2 separate regions of the Homo sapiens genome follow, and region 2 is linked to region 1. Evidence: promoter capture Hi-C in 16 types of primary human blood cells and fetal thymus (Javierre and others, 2016). All regions are on one chromosome and are shown on one strand. The core of a region is centred on a gene start or on the middle of the fragment in contact, and the rest is flanking DNA. Distances in the headings are between cores, read along the strand shown. Region 1 holds the start of SOD3 (superoxide dismutase 3). Region 2 has its middle 22 kb from the start of MIR573.

Region 1 (4,752 bases), core at 1,005-3,504:
GATTTCACTCTACCATTTTTTTTTTTTAGAGACAGGGTCTTGCTACATTGCCCAGGCTGGAGTGCAGTGGAATATTCACAGAAGTGATCATAGCACACTATAGCCTTGAATTCCTGGGCTCAAGCAACCTTCCTGCCTTAGCCTTCCTAGTAGCTGGGACTACACATGCGTATACCACTGCACTGAGCTCTCACTCTACTTTTATTCCACAGCCTTCTGCATTGGCCTTATCCTCAGACAGCTTCTCCCTTAGTGGAGCATGATGGCTGCAATAACTCCAGCCTTTTTTCTCCAGTTTCAAGTCCAGTAAGAAAGAGAGGATGCATCTCTTTCAACAGTCCCAGTGAAAAGTGGCATTGCATCTCATTGGCTCTGAAGGTGGATCATCCCTGAACCAGTGCAATAGTACGATTTATCATACCTAAGCCACAAGCTACCTCTGGAGCAGGAGATGAAGTCAACACCACCTGCTGGACTGAAAGTATAGTGGTTTCTCAGAAAGGAAATTGGGATGTTGTTACCAAAGGAAGAGGGAATGAATGTTGCCATGGTGGGGAGGTTGGGGGCGGTGGCGAGAAAAAGGCAGATTTCCTCTAGAATGCCATCAAAATGAAAGTAAATCTAGGCTTTAGCACAAGTCCTAGAATACCAGAACGGAGACGTGCTTTCTTGGACCTTAAACGAAATAAAATTAGGCCAAGTGAAGCAAGTGCCATTTAAAATAGTAGCTATGAATGTATATAATTAGGATTTCAAGAACTGAATGAAAATATAAATGTTTTAAAAATGGGAAGAAAGATTCACAATAAGGAACTAGACTGTTGCAGGGTGGGGGTGGGGTGGTGGGTGGCATGGGGAACTCTGAAAACTCATTAGTTGAGGATAACTACGCCTACCAACAGAATGCAGAGGTGCAAGACTGAGCTACTGGTGCCTGAGTTCTCAGCGGGCCAGAAGGAAGGACGGTAGGGTGGAAGGGCTGGAGTCTCAGTTCTGGGAAGTCTCCCTCTTATCTCGCAGAATGCCTGTCCCTGGATAAAGATCATTAGTTTGAGTTTTTCCAAGATGATTCTAGGAAGCTCCTGCTGGTAACTAAGTCACCCATCCTGGGGTGGGATCCAGAGATTTAGATTTTTTATAAGCTTTCCTGCCACCGAAACGGGTGTTTGGGACCTCACGAGGCCCTGTTCATTCTTCGTCGCTGCGCTCCCCACTCTGTACTGGATGCATTTACTGACGTTGTTGTCTCCGTCCCCAGAGTATGAACCCCCAAGGTGACTCATGCAGCTGTGGGTGCCCGGCATACAGCATGGTGACTGGAATGGATGAGCACCCAATAAACATTTGTTGCAGGAATGCAGGAGGACGGGCAGGCCAGCAAGCAGGCTGCCTGGTTTTTCCCACATGGGCTTTTCTGGGAAAGAAGAGCTTCTATTTTTGGAAAGGGCTGCTATGATTGAGAAAAGTTCATGGCAGCAAAAAAAGGACAGACGTCGGGAGGGAAACACTCCTAGTTCTCCCAGACAACACATTTTTTAAAAAGACTCCTTCATCTCTTTAATAATAACGGTAACGACAATGACAATGATGATTACTTATGAGTGCGGCTAGTGCCAGCCACTGTGTTGTCACTGGGCGAGTAATGATCTCATTGGATCTTCACGGTGGGCGTGCGGGGTGGACAGCCTCACACCCCCATTTTACAGATGATGAAAAGGAGGTGCAGGGAGTGGTGCAGCTGCTTCAGGCGTACACAGATAGGAAGTGACAAGGCTGGGACTCTGCAGCCTGAGTGTGTCATCACGACCCACCCGCTGCTCTGCTCTCATAGGTATGACAGCACAGCTCTGGAGCAAATGCCACGCACATTTGCAAGGTGCCCATTTCCATGCAGCAAAAATAAGTCAATAAGTTATTGACTTACAGAAAAGCAAAGGGCCTCTCAATAAAGAGGTCATTGTACACCTCTCCAAACAGGCGATTTTCTTTCTCATTTTTATTCCCCTGCTGTGTGCTGAAGGTCACTGGCTACAAGCCGGTGAAGTCGCGGAATGGAATCCTTGGCCCGAAAACCCAAAAATGGGAGGGGCAGAGGAGGTGGGGACAGAGCGGGAGGAGGTGGAGGCGAAGCAATTCTACAACCCGGGGAGGTCTGGCCTGCTTTTCCTCCCTGAACTGGCCCAATGACTGGCTCCCTCACGCTGACCACTCCTCTGGGCTGGCCTCCTGCACTCGCGCTAACAGCCCAGGCTCCAGGGACAGCCTGCGTTCCTGGGCTGGCTGGGTGCAGCTCTCTTTTCAGGAGAGAAAGCTCTCTTGGAGGAGCTGGAAAGGTGGGTGCTAAGTTGAGGTTCATTTTGTTCTTCTCGGAGTGTGCTTATTGAGTCTGAAGCTGGGTTGGGGCAACGGGCCTCTTCTTGGGAACAAATTGGATCATCTTCTTGGGAAGGAAATGTACTTTCCCTGGCTGCTCTGAGGGGTTAGTGGGGAGGTGGAGTGAGCGGGGAGGAAGGCAAGGAGGGGAGGAAGAAACCGTTCCTCCTGTGGATCTGCAAAGACCAGTCCAAGAGGATTTTAGTGTTAGGAAAAGGAATCTGGAGTGACGAGAAAGGGGGCCTTTCTAGATGTTGCATGGCTTTGGTGTCGGGAGCCACTTATGGGACAGCAGGTACTCTAAAAAGCCACCTCCTTAGGAAAGCAGAGAGGCCCTGGCCAGCTCAGGCTCCCAGCAAGAGCTCCTTCTAGGAGACAGCTGAGGGATGAAACACACCCAAGGCTCAAGAGGGGCAGGTTCTTCCCAGATACAGACCCAGGAAGGAGATAAAGGCTTGGTGCCTCTATTTGGTTCAGGATAAGGGCCCCTGTCCTCTTTCTCTGATAACACTGTCCTCTTTCTCTGATAACACCGTCCTCCCTTCCAGATCCACGTACAAAGGAGGCCCTTAAAAAGGCACTTGGTCATTCACAGCTCAAACTGAGCAAGAGGCTGTGGGAGAAGAATCAAGTTGGTCCCGAGGGGAAGAGGTGTCAAAGGCTTAAGAAACAAGAAGTCAGAGTTTACCTGGGTTTGAGGGAGAATTTTCTTTCCCCCTTTTCCTCCTCCTCCTCCTTCTTCTCTTTTTTTTTTTTTTTTTTTTTTTTTTGAGACATGGTCTCATTCTGTCACCCAGCACCCAGGCTGGAATGTAGTGGCACGATCACTATCACGGCTCACTACAGCCTCTACCTCCCGGGCTCAAGCGATCCTCCTACCTCAACCTCCTGAGTAACTGGGACTACAGGCACATGCCACCACACCCAGCTATTTTTTTTTTTTTTTTTTGCTAGAGATGGGGGTCTCTACCAGGTTGGTCTCATACTCTTGTACTCAAATGATTCTCCTGTCTCATCCTCCCAAAGGGGTGGGATTACAGGCATAAGCCACCATGCCTGGCTCTTCTTTTGGTTTCAGAGAAAAACATCTCCTTAAAATGTTTATTTCCCAAGGATTCTTGAAAAAGAAAGCTCACTGACACACCCAAAACAATCTGGTTTTGCTCTGTGCTTTTAGGGAGAACTTTCTAAGCAGCAGAGCCCTTCTGAGTGGCAGGGCTGTCTTAGGAGGAAGGTGTCTTTGATGATGGGGAACTTCATGTCCAGGTCTGGCAGGAGAGTTACCCCACTTTCCTGCCTACTCCCTGGGGCTTTGGGGTAGTAGTACCACATTGGGCCATGTCATTTAGGTGAGTCCTTCAACATCACTTTCTCTGCTTCTCCCTCTTTCTGGATCCTCCTTCTTGGAGCCTTTCAAGGGGACCTCCTCTCACAGTGTCCATAGCATCTCTTAGCTAATGGTCCTTAAAATCTCTACCAGCAGCTCTCTCTGATAGCTAAGAGCTGCCATTTACTGGGAACTTTCTATGTACTGGGCTCTGTGCTAAGTGCCCTAGATGAGAGATGTGCAGTGTGGTGCCTAAACCTTGGGCTTGGAGCAGACACACACTTTCAAATCCTGCCTTCAGCTCCTTAGTGAACATGTCACCTTGGGCGGGACACACGCCTCTCTGTGCCTCAGTTTCCTACACTTTAGAATGGGGATAACACTGAATAATGTTCTTGTGAGGATGCAGGGAATTAACCCACGCACAGTACTTATAATAGTGTCTGGCGCCTGTGTTCGATAAGTTTTAGCAATTCTAATCATCTCTTTTAAGCCTCGCAGCAAGCCTCTAAGGTAAGTCTGTATTAGTATCCCTATTTACAGATGAGAAAACTGAGGTTCACAGGGGATGAGACAGTGTACAGTCTGCAGTCCAGCAATTACTCTGCTACTCAGCAATAAAAATAGTAACAGCTAACCCTTAGACTAAGTGGCAGAGTCAGGCTTTAGATTCATGAGGTGAGTTCTGGAATCCATCCCTTTAATAACCACACTAAATTGCCTTTCTGAAATGGTTATATAAAGCATATCTACCCAATCTTGGAGTTTTTTAAATGGCACCTAGTTTGGTGCTGGAAATGCAGTTGACCTTCAAAGCAATTCTTTGGAGGCAGCATCAATCCCTCTGGAAATACCTCGGTGGCATGGCTGGCCTTATTCTACAGGTAAGGAACTTGAAGCTAAGCATCAGTAACCCCGTGAAGTCACAGTTAGTATAGGTTGGAATTGGGATTCAAATCTGTACCTGACTTTATAATTCCTAGCTGGGCCCCAGAATCTTTGATAGAGGTGTCTTCTTTCTTTTCTTTTCTTTCTTTCCTCTTTCTTTCCCT
Region 2 (5,077 bases), core at 1,278-3,777, 300 kb before region 1:
CAGAGTCTAGAGAATTTTTGTCAATCAGCTGGAGAGGCAATTTCTAGTGACTTTAACACACTGGTGAAATGGCTCTGAAAACTTGAAGGCAAGACCTGTTAGGGGCATATTAGTCAGGGTTCTTCAGGCAGACAGAACCAACAAGGGAGAAAAACAGGAAAGGAAGAAGGAAGCAGGGAAGGAAGGAAGGAAGGAAGGAGAGAGAGAGAGAGACAGACAGACAGACAGACAGACAGAAAGAGAAAGAGAAAGAAAGAAGGAAAAAAGAAAGGGGAAGAGAAGAAAAGAGAGAGAAGGGAGGGAGGGAAGGAAAAAAGGAAAGAAAAAGGAAGAGAGGAAGGGAGAAGAAGAAGGAGGAGGAGGAGGAGAAGGAGAATAGAAGGAAGGAAGGAGAAAAGAAAGAGATTGAGAGAAACATTGATTTTAAGGAACTGGCTCACATGATTGTGGAAGCTGACAAGTGCGAAATCCAAAATCTGCAGGGTAGGCCAGCAGCCTGGAGATCCAGGGAAGAATTGCAGTTCAAGTCCAAAGACCATCAGCCAGCAGGATTCCTTCTCCCTCAGAGAGGTCAGTCTTTTTCTCTTAAGGCCTTCACCTGGTTAGATGAGGCTCACCTACATTATGGAGGGTAATCTCCTTATTCACAGTCTACTGATTTAAATGTTAAATCTCAACTAACATATACCTTCACAGAAACATCTGGAATAATGTTTGACTATATATCTGAGCACTGGGGCCTAGCCAAGCTTACATATAAAAATTAACCATCACAGGACCCGTACCAAGCAATGTAATTATTTGATAGAGGTTGATGTACATAATTATTGATGTAATTATTTGACAAGTTGAGATTCTCATTTTACAAAACACTGTTTTTGTCCCTGTATGTCTCTGAACTTCACACAGCACCTGGCACAAAGACTTGACGTGTGTTTCAGAGATGGGTGTTTGGATGGCTGGGTAAGTGGTAGGTCTTATTGTCCAGTTTTTTGACAGCATTTTATTTTTCTTCTCTGCATCTTATCAACATTTTTTATATATTTCGAAAGTACATGGCCAGTCATGGTGGCTCACACCTGTAATCCCAGCACTTTGGGAGGCCGAGGAGGGTGAATCACCTGAGTTCAGGAGTTCAAGACCAGCCTGCCCAACATGGCAAAACCCCATCTCTACTAAAAATACAAAAATTAAATGGGCGCGGTGGCATGCACTTGAAATCCCAGCTACTCAGGAGGCTAAGGCACCAGAATCGCTCGAACCTGGGAGGCAGGGGTTGTAGTGAGCCGAGATCACCCTACTGCACTTAAGTCTGGGTGACAGAGTGAGACTCTGTCTCAAAAATAAATAAATAAATAAAAATAATTTCCTCTGTTGGTGTGGGGAGCAAGGGCGGTTGTCTGGAGCATCGCTCTTTAACTGAGGTAAGTCTTTAGGCACGAGCAGGAGTTGAGTTGGCACGGTGATTAGCCCAGGGAGATGCAGGTTTAAAGGGTGCACACCCAGCAGCAGAGGGAACAGCACGTGCAAAGAAGAAAAACAAGGAAGAACACAGTGCCGTCCTAAAGATGCAGCTAGTTTTGGTGCTGTTGGTTTTGTGGTTATTGCTTATTTTAATATCTCTGGAAAAGTCACAAAAATGGGGTTTAGCCTAGATAAGGAAAAATTGAGCTCAACTGGTTTGTGTAAGGAATAGGTTTCATATCCTCAGGAAACTGATTAGGAAGAAATAGGTTTAAAAAGGAGGGTAGGAAACAAAGAACTTGAAATTACCACTAGGATAATCAAACTTGGGCTTGTGCTACAAATACCACGGAGCTGTGTGTGGAATATCCTTCCACCGGAGGCAGCCGGGAGGAAATGACCAGGACTGACTCCTTGCGGAGGCCAGACCAAGTGACTTCCACCATTTTGTGGCTAATGTTTGTGCAATGGATGGTGTAGCATCATAGTCTCCGACTCTTCCAGAAAATACTCCAGTTTAAATTGGCTACAAATACAATCAATTGTTTGGTCAGTGAAAGGCTGCAGTCTCTATGAACCTTACCATACGCATCTATTTCCATGAGCCAAAATGCTAATGCAATTCCATCCCGTGGAACTATTCCCCGTGGTTAGTCTAAAAATCAGCTTTACTCACCCGGTGAATCAACTGACCACAAAATCCCACTGAGGAAATAACATTGGGAAAGCACCCAAAAAGAATCCTGTTGTGATTTATTTGGAACAACCATTGCTATGTTTTTATTTTTATTTTTATTTATTTATTTATTTTGAGACAGAGTCTTCCTCTTGTCGCCCAGGCTGGAGTACAGTGGTGCGATCTCAGCTCACTGCAACCTCCGCCTCCCAGGTTCAAGGGATTCTCCTGCCTCAGCCTCCCAATTAGCTAAGATTACAGGCACCTACCACCACACCTGGCTAATTTTTGTGTTTTTAGTAAAGATGGGTTTTTGCCATGTTGGCCAGGCTGGTCTTGAACCCCTGACCTCAGGAGATCCACCTGCCTTAGCCTCCCAAAGTGCTGAGACTATAGGCATGAGACACTGCGCCTAGCCAAAAACATTGCTATGTTTTTAAAACACGGTTTTTCAATATTTTAAAAAGATGCCTTTTAAAATATTGATTGGGAAATGACATTTTCCAAGCCTACACCTTCATAGTTACATTGCCCTTAAGAGGTACACTTCTTATTGAGAATCTGTTTTCTCCCACAATATTGATTAAGTCAGGACAATTTGCCAGGCATCAATAATATGCTGCCTTCATGGGACTTACTGTCTAGAATTGCTGCTGCTTCTGCCTGTTCCCACTACTATATTTTCTTGAGCTTCACTTTCTATAATGTGTTATGAAAGCAGTAGGTATTTTTCATTTATCGTATTTTTAAAATATGATAATTATGTTAAATAGGTTTTTTCAAATGATGCATGTTCACCTGCTGAAATGCAAATGCCATCCCCCTTACCATACCCTCCCTCCAAGACACACCTGTTCCCCAAAAGAGACAAACAGATGTTTCTGGATCCTTCCCTTAAATATTTACTTATGATGTGGTAGTAGCTTTCACAACTGACCGTCTCTTAACTACCCTGCTGGATTCACTGTAAACCATGTAGACTTCTGTAAATGATGATGATTCCCATGACCCCTGAAACACCTGAAGCTGGCAGGCTCCACCTGACTTTGTCCATGGATTCCCACATATTGAATTAACCCTTTGCTCCCCAAACCTGTCAAAGCCAGTTTATTCATTCATGCACAGACATCTGAGCGCCTATGATGTGTACACACTGTTTTAAGCTCTGGAGACACTGCAGTGATAAAGAACAGAGAAGTCCTGTCCTCAAGGAGCTTCTATGCTAGTTATACTTATTTGCTTCTACGGTTTAATTACATGTTGTAAAACCTATTTAAAAATGAATGGGAAGCTGGGCATGGTGGTTCATGCCTGTAATCCCATCACTTCGGGAGGCTGAGGCAGGTGGATTACCTGAGGTCAGGAGTTCAAAACTAGCCTGGCCAACATGGTGAAACCCCGTCTCTACTAAAAATATAAAATTAGCCAGGTGTGGTGGTGATTGCCTGTAATCCCAGCTATTCAGGAGGCTGAGGCAGAAGAATTGCTTGAACTGGGTAGGCGGAGGTTGCAGTGAGCCTCGACTGCACCATTGCATGGAGTGACATGCATGGAGTGTTGCCTGGGCGACAAGAACAAAACTCTATCTCAGAAAAGGAAAAAAAAAAAAAAAAAGAATGGGAAAAGAAGTTCTTGCTCCTATGAAAACCAAGTTGAATGTTTTGGCATGACTGAATAGATGCAAGTTGCTTCAAACAAATGCTGTTGAATTTGGCATGGGCCAGACAACCATCAACTATTGGAGAAAATGGTACGAATACGGGATTCTGCTTTGCAAATGTCTGTAAGTTCTTCCTGGAATTTTAAAAAACTGAAACTGGAGGTTATAGATGAATTATTTCAGGGTGTGGTTTAGACAAGATAGACAAGGAATGCTACTCAACAGACCTAGATGGCAAAGCAGAAAGGCAAGAAGAGAGGCACCTAGAGTGCAAAGGTTAAGAAGGCACTGCCCTCAGGACCATGCAAGTGCAGGGTCAGCACCTGAGAGCAAGCGCCTCATTAAATGTTGTGCTCTTATTTCTGACCTGCCTCGCCCTCCTCCCAGCCCTGCCAGATGGCCTCAGGCCTATTTATGCTTTTAAACTTAAATATGGAAGGAGCGTAACACTTTTAAAGATTCATCATTTTATTAACTAACCAACCAGTTCCAATCTGTTGGAGGGAAAGCTTCTACAGTATCAAAAATATCGAGGCTGGGCGCGGTGGCTCACGCCTGCAGTCCCAACAATTTGGGAGGCCAAGGCAGGGAGATCACTTGAGGTCAGGAGTTCGAGACCAGCCTGGCCAACATGGGGAAACCCCAGTCTCCACAAAAAATATAAAAATTAGCCAGGTGTGGTGGCACATGCCTGTAATCCCAGCTACCGGGGAGGCCAAGGTGGGAGGATTGCTTGAACCAGGGGGATGGAGGTTGCAGTGAGCTGAGATCACGCCACTGGACTCCACCCTGTGAGACAGAGTGAGACTGAGATTCTGTCTCAAAAAAAAAAAAAAAAATTGAGCTTGCTGTACTAATAGCAAGCATTTATGGAGTACTTTACATGGATTGGTGAATGTTCTAAGTACATTGTGTTAACTCTATGCTATGGTCTGAATGTTTGTGTCCCCTGCCAAAATTTACATGTTGAAAGTCTAACCCCCAAGGTGTTAATATTAAATATTAGGAGGTAGGTGGGGCCTTTGGGAGGTGAATTAGATCGTGACAGGGGAGCCCACATTCATGGGATTAGTGCCCTAATAAAAGTGGCCTCAGAGGGCTAGCTTGCCACTTCCACCACATGAGGACACAGTGAGAAGGTGCCATGCAAAAACCAGAAAGCAGGCACTGAATCTGCCAGTGCCTCAATCTTGGACTTCCCAGCCTCCAGAACTAGGACACATTTCTGTTGTTTATCAGCCACCTGTTTATGGTGTCTTATTATAGCAGCCTGAATG

The links. Contacts are between HindIII fragments. The CHiCAGO score rates a contact against its expected background, and 5 or more counts as called.
Region 2: a fragment that was not itself captured here is called in contact with the fragment with the promoter of SOD3 in region 1 in 2 of 17 cell types (endothelial precursors and M2 macrophages); the score reaches 6.6 in endothelial precursors.

The regions. Positions count from the first base shown.
Region 1 is chr4:24,793,319-24,798,070 of GRCh38, forward strand. It overlaps SOD3 (superoxide dismutase 3), which reads left to right and starts at 2,255. Exons shown (of 2, transcript NM_003102.4): 1 at 2,255-2,333. The HindIII fragment of the contact is 8,707 bases long and covers 1,141-4,752 here.
Region 2 is chr4:24,495,298-24,500,374 of GRCh38, forward strand. No RefSeq gene overlaps it. Among named protein-coding and RNA genes, the nearest start is that of MIR573, 22 kb to the right of the region's middle. RefSeq lists an enhancer at 4,971-5,077. The HindIII fragment of the contact is 3,560 bases long and covers 748-4,307 here.